Linked DNA regions of Homo sapiens: region 2 is linked to region 1. The links are contacts of gene promoters, found by promoter capture Hi-C in human tissues and cell types (Jung and others, 2019). All regions are on one chromosome and are shown on one strand. Each heading gives the region's core, a stretch centred on a gene start or on the middle of the fragment in contact. The rest is flanking DNA. Distances are from core to core; before and after follow the strand shown.

Region 1 (5,382 bases), core at 2,139-4,638:
CACTAGAACATTAGGTCAGGTAAATTAAGACAAAACTGAGAAATATGTAATCAAGAGAGGAGGAAATTTCAAATACAACAAAAAAGTGTCAACGCTATCAGATTAACAGAGGCCAACACTAGAAGAATTAATATGCTGGATAGCAATTACATCACTTCATAGGCTAGGCTACAACAATGATTCCCAACCTGGTATTGCCAGATCACTGGGCCAACAGTAAGGATGTGTAACTATTGTCAATATTTCAAAATGCCTTTCAAAAATTGTAACTTTGCCTAATATAGCCTAACTTCTTTACTGCTGACTGGAATTATGTTAGCTCCATGTGGTAACTCTATCATCTTATATTTGTCTCTTTTTTTGATTAATAGTTACACATCTGACTGATAAAAGGAGGAAATGAATGATTACTTAGTAGAAATAATTTTGTGTTATAAAATAGGTTTACACAGAGAAGAAAATGAAAACAATCCTTAGTACTTAAAAGTCTAGACTCAAGGGCTAAAACACTGGGCCATAGCTAATAAGAGTATGCTTAACAGATATAAACGATCTGTTCAGTTCAAAACATTGGTTAGCTAAGCAAGGGAGTAGTCAAGCTAAAAGAGACTGTGGTTTTAGTTGATTACAGCCTCGCTCTGTGCCAACATGAAGCTCCAAAAAAACCTATTCTAATGTTAAGCTATATTAATAGGATTACACATAAGTGAAGGAGTGGTATAACAGTTTTGATGTATGCTATTCAACAGTATAACTGGAATGAAATGGCCCACTACTATATTCCAAATTTTAAAACATACAACTACAGATCATCCAGAGGAGGGAAGTGGATATTTTATCTAGAAAACACTCTAGAGCTGTCTTCAAATGGCAGAAGGGATATCATATATAGAGAGAATAGTGGGCTTTTAATTTATTGCTACAGAAAGCAAAACTAGGATGGGTAGACAGACGTTACTGAATGGCAGATATTCGGCCAAATACAAAGACCTTATGAATATAAGAATTACTGCCAAAAAACAGTGTTAGACCCATCATCATTGAATGTTTTTATACAAAGGAAAGATGATCCATCTCTTAGCATTCACACTACACTGTAATTGCATGTTTAAAATTATCTGTCTCTCCGAATAGAACATGAACTCTTTGAGAGAAGGGTTATAGTCTTACTTATCTTTTTGGCCCCATGGAATCTAGCAATGAACATTGTATACAGCTATTGTACAAAAAAAAAAAAGGTCTACTGAATTAATAGGTGAATGAAGAAACTGAATGTTTTAAGAAACACTTTACTGAAAAGATGAGACGCCCTTTTGGGCCCCTAAATTTTTAAGATGTCCTTAGTACAGAGTCTCATGCAGAACTCATTCTACTTCATAACACAGCCTAGGAAGGGTGTGCATAATGAATCTATTTTACTATGTGATAAGGAGCACAGTTAGGCTAATTCGAACTGCCATCTTTATCTGAAGTGCTAATATTAATTACAGTTTCTTTGCCAAACTAGAAAAGATATAATTCCTGATCTTTGTATTATGAAAACTTAAGCAAATGCTTCAGTATGAAAATATTTATGAGAGTATCTCAAACACAGAAGAATCTCTAGAATGTGAGGATTTAAAAAATCTTATTCTTCAAACATGTTAAGCAGTAGGCAGAGTAAAATGCCATCAGGTGACATGGAAAATGAATCAGTAACACTTAACTGCCAGTAGAAAGAAAGGAAGAACTAAGAAAAAACGGAAAAAACTGAAAAGATTTTAAGAAATTACAAGTTATAGCATCATATCCGAATGGCATCTGCCTGAAGGATTTTCCTCATGCTCTGCCTAAACCTTTCTACTTTCACGTGGTGTGGTAGTGTGGTAGTGTGGTAGAGTTTCACGGCTTCACAAGAAACTCTACCACAAACTAGTTGGGAAAATAAAGTACACAACATAAATCAGTGGGTTTGGTTTCTTGATTTTTAACCTTTGGTAAAAGGACAGTGAGGGAAACAAATGTTGAAAGTACTGCTGCAGATAACAGGAACATCATAGATTATAGGTAGATCTTATTCCCCACCATTTTAACTCAAGCAGACATTTGAAACTGTCTGAATGTGTCTTGCATACAATAGGTACTCCCTCTCTTAAATAAATAAGCTACATGTAAACACACAGCTAACTCTACTTTGGAGTCCACATGATCCGACAAAAAGAAGTCCCCAGAGATGCATACTACCAGTGATTGATCACTTAGAAGGGAAACGCTTTAAAAAGTTTTACTTAGGAACACACTTTCAATGTAGAGAAATAATGATATAGCTATAGGTACCTTGCACAGCTGCACAGATGAATATACACACACAGGGAAAATTTACAAATTACTTTCACTGTTTGAGTTAATCTAAGAGACAGGGCCTGGAAGATGTAATCTTTCACATAAATATCCTAGACGTGTGAAATTAATTCTCACAATCTCTTCCTTAAAAACAAGGCAAAATATAGACACTTGGTCCCAGTTACATGTTTCTGGAACAAGAGAAAAATACACTTTAGTGTCAACTACCTTATCTAGGAACTTAATTTTTATTAAGCTGTTTTTCGAAATATGAGCATTGTGGCACTATAACACTTCATAGACTGGTATTTGCAGGATTCTAAGAATGTGTGCTTGTTGTAAAGACGTTATTTACTTCTTTTCATGGAGAAAAACAGTTTTGAGTGTTGGCGGGGAACAAAACCACTTGAGGAGGAAATTAACCTAACCCCAAATTTCCTGGACCCCCTACAACAGCAAACAGAAGGGGAACGGGCAGAGAGTGTAACCCAGCATCAGCCCGAGCGGGCACAGGGAAGGGTTAGGAATGGGACAAAAAACTGGACTCTCAGTTTGGCAGGAAGGTGGGTATTGCGGAAGGATGGTTTGCCGCGGCCGGGGAAAGAAAAGAAAGGGCAGCCTGAGCCCCCCGTGGCCCCTCGCTCCTCCCAGCCCGTCCCGTGGGGTCTGCAGGGCCTCACCCCGACCTCCACTCCGCGCGGCCGGCAGGAGGCGGCGGCCCGGACGCTGTACCTGCCCGCCAGCCCGCTTTGCCCCGCGTGCGGCCGCCGGGAGGCCGGCAAAACCACGAAGGCCGGGGCGAGCGAGCCAGTCGGGCCCGGCGTCCCAGCGGCGCCGCTCCGCCCACCCGCCTCCCGAGACGCGGCCAGGACCCCCGCGCGTCTTCAGCCGGCTCCAGACCACAGGAGGCGGCCCCGTCAGCGCCTCGGCCTGCCGGCGCACCTCCGAGCCCCCCGCCAGCTGGGTGGTCCCGGTCCTCGCTCCCCGCTGTCAGCCTCCACTTACCTTCAATCGCCATGATGCGCTCGCCATGGACCGCACCAACTGGATGGCGGGGGCAGCAGACGCGAGGGCTGGCGGAGGACGCGCTGAGTCCGCCAGCGAGAGGGGCGGGGCCCGGCCCGGAGTCGCCCGGCTGTGCGGCCGCGAGGGGCGCCGCGGGCGGGGCGAGGGAGGGGCCCCGAGCGCCGCGAGTGCGGGCCGCGGAAGAAATGGAACCTTCCCGGGGCCGCCGCTGGCACGTGACGCCACCCCGCCCCCACCCCAACCTACCCCACCCCACCCCACCGCCCCACCGCGCCTCGCGCCTCGATTCGAAACAGGTGCCCGGCCCGGAGAGCCACGGGCCCGCGCCCGAGACCCGCCCGAAGCGCGCCGAGCTCGTGTGGGGGCCCAAGCCCAAGCTTCCTGGCGCCGGGCGCCCTCCCGTCCGGTACTTGGAGCAAACGGTGTCCATGAAGGAGGCGAGTGGCAAATGATGTGGTCAGGACCATGGACAGGTCTCCTTGGTTGAAAAGGATTCCCACCCACTGACTCTCAGATTTGGTAATAGTAAGTCTGTTTTGGTTTCGTTTGGTTTTATTTTGTTTTGTTTTGCCCGAATCAGCCACATACTCGTCTCAGATCTCCGCTGTGGAGAAACAGCTAGTTGGCAAAAAGCAAAAAGGAGAGAGGAATCCTGAGCACAGCAGTGGTCTCTCTCTCTCTCTCTCTCTCTCTCTCTCACACACACACACACACACACACTCACTTCACCCCTTAGCCTCGCTCTTGATAAGCCTTGCTGCCACACAGAGCTTGGCTTACCTCTTGGAACTCTGAGTTGGAATTTGTCTACACATTGCAAACGCACATTTGAAGCCACACAAAAGTCAGGGTCAGACGGACGTTTTGACAAAGGACCTGGAAAGCATGTCACACGCAGGTTTTTAAAAATTTGTAAACCTGTGACCATTGTGAACAGTCCCAGGCCAACCCTGAGCACAACAACAATTGGCCACTTAGTTTTTACTTAAGATACTTGAACCGCTCAACCATTTACCCAACTCTCAACTTCATTTAGTAATTTGAGAACCTGGACAATCAACGGCATAAACAACATTGAGAAATAGGGAGTTTAGTGATTCTCTCTTGTGGAGGAAATGCTAATTCCTAGAGCAAAATAGCTATATTAGGGACTGAAACAAAGAAGAAAATATTTTACACTTATGTAAGTAAGGTTGGACTGTAAATCTAGAGCAGAAACTGTCTTCCATTGCTTTTATATAACCTCTCCCTCAGTCGCATTTTATGCTCAATAGACATTCATCCTTTACCATTTTCTTTAGTTCAGTGAGTATCTGTGAAGCCGGCACTGTGCTGAAAACTGGCTACAAGCAAGAATTGTTATTGAAGGATCAAAGAAAATACTGTTTTACTCAGGAAACATTAAAATGCCTATACTTTAGGAAAGCTCCATGAGAGAGTTTATGATGGACATCTAGAGGATTCGGGTAAAATGTTTAATGACATTTTCCCCAGGCAGCCTCCCTTAAAACAGTCTTGAACTCCAAGACATTGATCTGAACTTGACACCACAGTTGTAAGTTGTGGTTTCTGGCTAGTTCTGAGTAACCCAATTGTTCAAACTTTTAAAGAATTTCATATTGAAAGCCCGAAAAATGTATTCATCCTTTCCTCACCAATTACATAGTTACTAAGTAAATAACCAGATTATGTGAGTTTCCATAACCTAGATTAACATCGCTACTATTTGTCCAGGAGACTTATTTGTCCAGGAGACTCATGTGGATGAACTGGGGAAGAAGGAAGATAGTTCCTAGAAGGAGGTTGTTGGACAGAAAGAACTTAACTTATGCCTAGTGTTCCATTATTGGAACGCTAAGCACGCGGGAGTTGTTTACATCCTGCTGCTCAAGGTCATCGCCAAGGTCTGATTGCAAAAATTCTAAAAATTGCAACCTCAGGGATAAATGAGTTAAGTAGTAACTACAAAGGTACTGTACTGTCTAGACATCCACCTCTTGTCTACCTTCTAACTCTTTTGCAAGCACTTGCCTT
Region 2 (5,382 bases), core at 1,178-3,677, 68 kb before region 1:
TGTTAAAATCTTATGAGTTATTTTTTACAATTTGTTTTTAGCTCATCAGCTATTGTTAGGGTATTTTATGTGTGGCCCAAGACCATTCTTCTTCCCATGTGGCCCAGGGAAGCCAAAAGATTGGACACCCCTGCTGTACACCATCAATTAAAAAATTACACTGATTCATACCTCCCTAATAAAAAATATATTCTTATTCATTATAGGAGTAGAATTTCCCCTAAAATCTTTGTATACTATGAATCTGCTTAGAAAGTCATTCTGCATAAGTATAAGATAATGTAATTTATCTATACCTATACCTTCTTTCAAGCATTCTAGGCCACCCACTGCAGGAAAGTAAATCTATTTAAAACACACATGCCTCTTAAGGAGGATCTTCAAAATCTTCATTTAGGCCAGGTGTGGTGGCTCACGCCTGTAATCCCGGCACTTTGGGAGGCTGAGGCAGGTGGGTCACCTGAGGTCAGAAGTTCAAGACCAGCCTGGCTAACATGGCAAACCCCATTTCTACTAAAATTACAAAAATTAGCCGGGTGTGGTGGCGGGCACCTCTAATCCCAGCTACTCAGGAGGCTGAGGCAGGAGAATTGCCTGAAGCCAGGAGGCAGAGGCTGCAGTGAGCTGAGATCGCGCCACTGCATTCCAGCCTGAGCGAGAGCGAGATTCCATCTCAAAAAGAAAAAAAAAAATTCTATTTAAAAGCACACAGCCAATAATTAGTTTAATATTACACATTTGAAGAATTAAATTTGTTGAATACAGTCAATAACTCAAATTTCACTAATGCAAGTTTTCCCATGATCCAAATTTGCAAAGTTTTAATGTGGTAAACAACAAAACCAAGACCAACTAATAACAACCTGAACAATATCAAACACTTAAAAAGTGCTTATTATTTAACAGGGACTGTTTTAAGTCCTTTACAAGCATTATCTTATTTAATCCTCACTGCAACCATATTTTACAGATATAGATACTGAGGTTCACAAAGAGTAAGTAAAACTTTCAAGATCTTAAAATTATTATTCAGTGACACAGTCTGTATTTGAACTTGAGCACACTGACTCCTGAACCCAAACTGTTAACTGCTAATCTCTTAGCTTCCCATTTGCCAGATATTGTTGTAATTGCTTTCATTTTAAAATTTAACACTCAAGACAATTTATGATAAGTACTATAATATTATCTTAGTCTTTAGATTAATAAATTGAAGTCCAGAGAATAATTAAGTTGTCCAAGTTCACAAATCTATGAAGTGGTAGAACCTGGATTTGAATCCAGACATTCTGACTCCAGAATCCATGATCTTAAACACCAAGTAATACTGCTCCTTGTATGCCAACCTGCATATAAAAGATAAGAAAAAGCTATATGACCAAAGTAACATAGCTCACTATATATATTATGTGCAAATATTTTATTTATAGCTCTTATATATGTTAAAAAATAGCAAGCAATTTCAACTTCCTCAAAATAAATACATGAATTTTAAAACTGGAATTCTAATTTTTTTCTATTCAAGTTACTATTCAAAATATTTTAAAATTAATTTTAGAATTAAGTTTAAAAACCAAAATATGTGGTACTTCCTTATATGCCACATTTGAAAAGCTAATAAAACAAATATGAATTTAAAAACTAAAGATACTCTATAGAAAATAGCTTGATATTCATTAGTAGTGCTCAATAAAGAATATTAACTGCTCTCTGTGAGCTATATCGTCCACTATATGAATTCCCTAAAGACCATACTGCAAAGTGAGAAGGGGCACTAGGTACAATATCTCACCAGAAAATGTAGAAAGTTTAGTCTTTCCAAGACTAATGATTATTTGTGTTATGTATACTGAACTGGCTTTGGCAGTTATATCTTTATATTTAGAAATAAATATATGTATTTACAAAAAATAAACTTAAAAAATACCAATTTTTTAAAATTTAAGCTTCAGTAACAGTGGTAAAATTCATTTTAATTTCTACAGATAAGTTGGTCATTGAAAAAAATGAAAAAATTACAGTCTTACTAAAGTCAAAGCAAGAGCAAATACATTTCGACTTTGAAAGTATTGCAGAATTCACTTAAATTCTCCATTATATTTTGTCACAAAAGAACATTTTCTAGCTAAGAAAATGTTTTTCTAAGAAAAATGCTAGGATATACATGAAAATAATTAAATATATGGGGGATATTTATCTACTAAACCAACACATTTTCTATTTTGATTTACTTGGACCACAATAATACTCTAAATAATATTTCTATCAAAACAAATTAATTATAATTTCTAAAATAAATTTTGTAAGACTATTCTATTCATTATATCTTAAATGCAAAATTAAACAAAAAGTACCTATGCTTTATCTAATTATTTTTTTAAAAAGATAAAAAGTAACAACTTACAATTTGCATTATAAGGGATGTATTGCTGATTTGTCCTGCTGGGCATGAAACACTAATCCTCTAACTCCATGTCATGGATACTTTAATAATTCATTTAATAGATGCAATTCTATCTCTTGACCAAAATGTGAACTATCAAAGTCAACTTTCATTGAAAAAGATATACCTGTTTTACATTTAATTAGCTGTAAATATTTTCTCCATATTTTAATCAGAAAAATGCTATAATTTATTTTGCTCTGGGTTTGGACATAGAGAATTATTCATAATTCTAAGAGATAATTTAGGAAAACAGAAGGTTAGTATGTTTCAGTTTCCTTTTATAACATTTCAATTAGTTTACAAATAAAATTTCCCTCAAATTTTCGTATTACATTATAAACAATGCAAAACTGGAAAGAATATATGTAAATTAAAAAAAGAATGTAACAATGCTAGCTGTTAACTCCAGATTTTATAAAAAACAATCATTACAAAGAGCATTTACTGATAGAAGTAACACAATTCACTGGTGAGTAACTTAAAGGGACAATGGAAGAAGGCATAGATGGTAGTGATGTGAAACACTAAGATCTTAGGGAAAAAAAATGCCCTCTAAGAGAAACAGTTACCTACCTGGACAGGTTGATAAAACAGATGCCACCCAATTTGTTTCACAGTTCAAGCCATGAATAGATTGAACCTGTATTCCCTCTAAGTACATGCAATAAATTGAAATTTCATTTGACTATCATAACAAAAAACTCTAAATCAATCTTGAAGAAATTAGAAAAAAAAGAAAACCCAAACTTTTATTAAGTATGGAAAACCAAATATAAAGTGTATTTAAACCATATACTTCTTACTTAATAATACTTAATGTACTTCATATATTTAAACCAAATCTTAATATAAAACTCTATCAATCTCTGGCAGAGACTTTTCTTCAAGGACAGTCTTGATTGAGGCTTTAGAATTATGATTCTAATGAAGTTTTAGACTAAGAAAAACTTATTTTCCTGGCAAATCTCCCTACAGCAAAGCATAGTCATTCTTTTGAACAACGAATTGTCTCAATTTTTTTCATTACCTATTCAATGTGTATGGATTCCTTCACAATTATCTAAATGAGAAACGGCATGGACAATATCTAAGGTCACTGCTTCCTCTCCTTTACTTTTTCAATGATTCTTTCTTTCTTTTCAATAAGATCTTCATGCTGAGCTACTATGAGTAAGATTTTGAATTCAACACCAATTGCAGGGGAATATTCTGGTTAAAGCCAATCTGTGATGTCAACTACAGTTTTAGATAAGCTTATTTCAAGATTTAGTTCAAACCCATCAAAATTCTGATAAATACCAAGCAGTTTCATTCAAATCTCTCAGAGAGACACCATCTTCCTCTCAAATTTTAATATTAGGACACCTGGTTCTCTTCTTGAAATGATCAAAACATTGTTTGCTCACTCTAAAACCATCTTTCCCCTACTAAGCCTGATCCATTTTGAAGAGAAGTAGCTTTTGCTGAAAACATTGAATGGTTCAATAGATTTACTGTGTATGAACACATACATAGGCAATCAAAGCTTCATCTAACCTTACCAGCATATCATGTTTTCTTATCCACTAAATAAATGAGTCCGGCATAGTTCAGTTAGTGATGACAAGAGCTCAACATCAACATCATACTGTGCTCCCACCTGAATATAGCAACTGGAATGTTCTACTCACTTGCATTCTCAATGCATCTAGAATAAAAAATGTGTAGCTCCATTTGCAAAATGATATCATTCTACCTTTTTGTTGATATGATATCTGTATCAGATATAGTAAAAGCAAATATATTTGAAATTTTAAAGAAAAACTACTCTAAAAGCTTTGAGAAAAGATACAATCCTTTAAGTTCAGCTGCTGATAGATTTGCTGAGTAACCTCTGAACAAGCATCGCAGTTTTGGAGCAGAATCATGTGAGAAACAGTTTGAGTCCTGTCCTTAGAGATTGAAATACAAATTTTAAATAATTAAAATGAAGTAGGAGCTACTTTTCAATAAGTAAGGTGTTATAAAGTAAGAAGTAGTGCTACAAGGGTCACCAGCCACCAAATCAACATTAACTGAAGAAAGAATTTGTCAATCAAAAAGAGAAAAGATAAGCAATGAAATGATGAAATTAAGAGATGTATGATGAAATTAAGAGATGTAAAATTTGGTGGTATACCATGACACGTCTTTCAGTGGTATCCATCTTAGTTAGGTATTTTGGGAGATATATAAACCCGTGTTACTTAATACCTTTACCAATGACCTGAATAAAGGAATTGAGAATATGTTCATTAATTTTGTAGAAGGTCCTAGGAATACTAGGTAGGGCATGATTGCTAATTCTCTGAAAGAAAGAAAGATACACTAAGGACCTCAATATATTAAAGAAATAACACATCAAAACAAAGTGAAATTCAATATGGATAATTTCAAGGTTACTACACCATTAGGAGCCAAACACTAATAAATGTTAATGAAAATGTTGGCTCAGTAAAATGTGTCAGGAAAAAAATTAAAATAATATAATACGAGTCAAACAGAAATCAGCAGTATAATGTTTCTAACTGGTGAAAACTAATCATTCTATTATGCTATCTGATTCTGATGAAAGCAATTATGGTCTCCAATTTCAAAGTAAAATTGAGAACACCTAGTAAAGAATACATTTGGAGACTTTCACAATAAGGAAAAAAAATTAAAAAGCAGAATAAAACAAACAGAAACAGCATTTGTTAAAAAAATAAATCATTTGTGAATAAAATTAAATTTATGTGGGAAAAAATATTAAAACCAATTATTTGTAAGGATTTGGCAATATTTAATGCATTTTAAAAGGGAAACTGGTTTCCTAATCCTGCTAAAGAATATAATGCAATGGCTTAAAGAGAGCAAGTTAAGAAGCATTGCCAGCAAGTGACTGGTCAGCAAGCTGCTTTCCAGAACAGTATGATCTT

What was found. Contacts are between HindIII fragments. The study calls those that stand out against the background at their distance.
Region 2: a contact is called between a fragment that was not itself captured here and the fragment with the promoter of SYT14 in region 1, in 2 of the 25 tissues and cell types used here (H1 embryonic stem cells and heart right ventricle).

Annotation. Positions count from the first base shown.
Region 1 is chr1:209,936,223-209,941,604 of GRCh38, reverse strand. It overlaps SYT14 (synaptotagmin 14), which reads right to left and starts at 3,388. Exons shown (of 9, transcript NM_001146262.4): 1 at 3,328-3,388. The coding sequence starts at 3,340. RefSeq lists a silencer at 3,647-3,941. The HindIII fragment of the contact is 7,833 bases long and covers 1-4,873 here.
Region 2 is chr1:210,003,677-210,009,058 of GRCh38, reverse strand. All of the region lies in intron 2 of SYT14 (synaptotagmin 14), which reads right to left. Among named protein-coding and RNA genes, the nearest start is that of SYT14, 68 kb to the right of the region's middle. The HindIII fragment of the contact is 3,378 bases long and covers 739-4,116 here.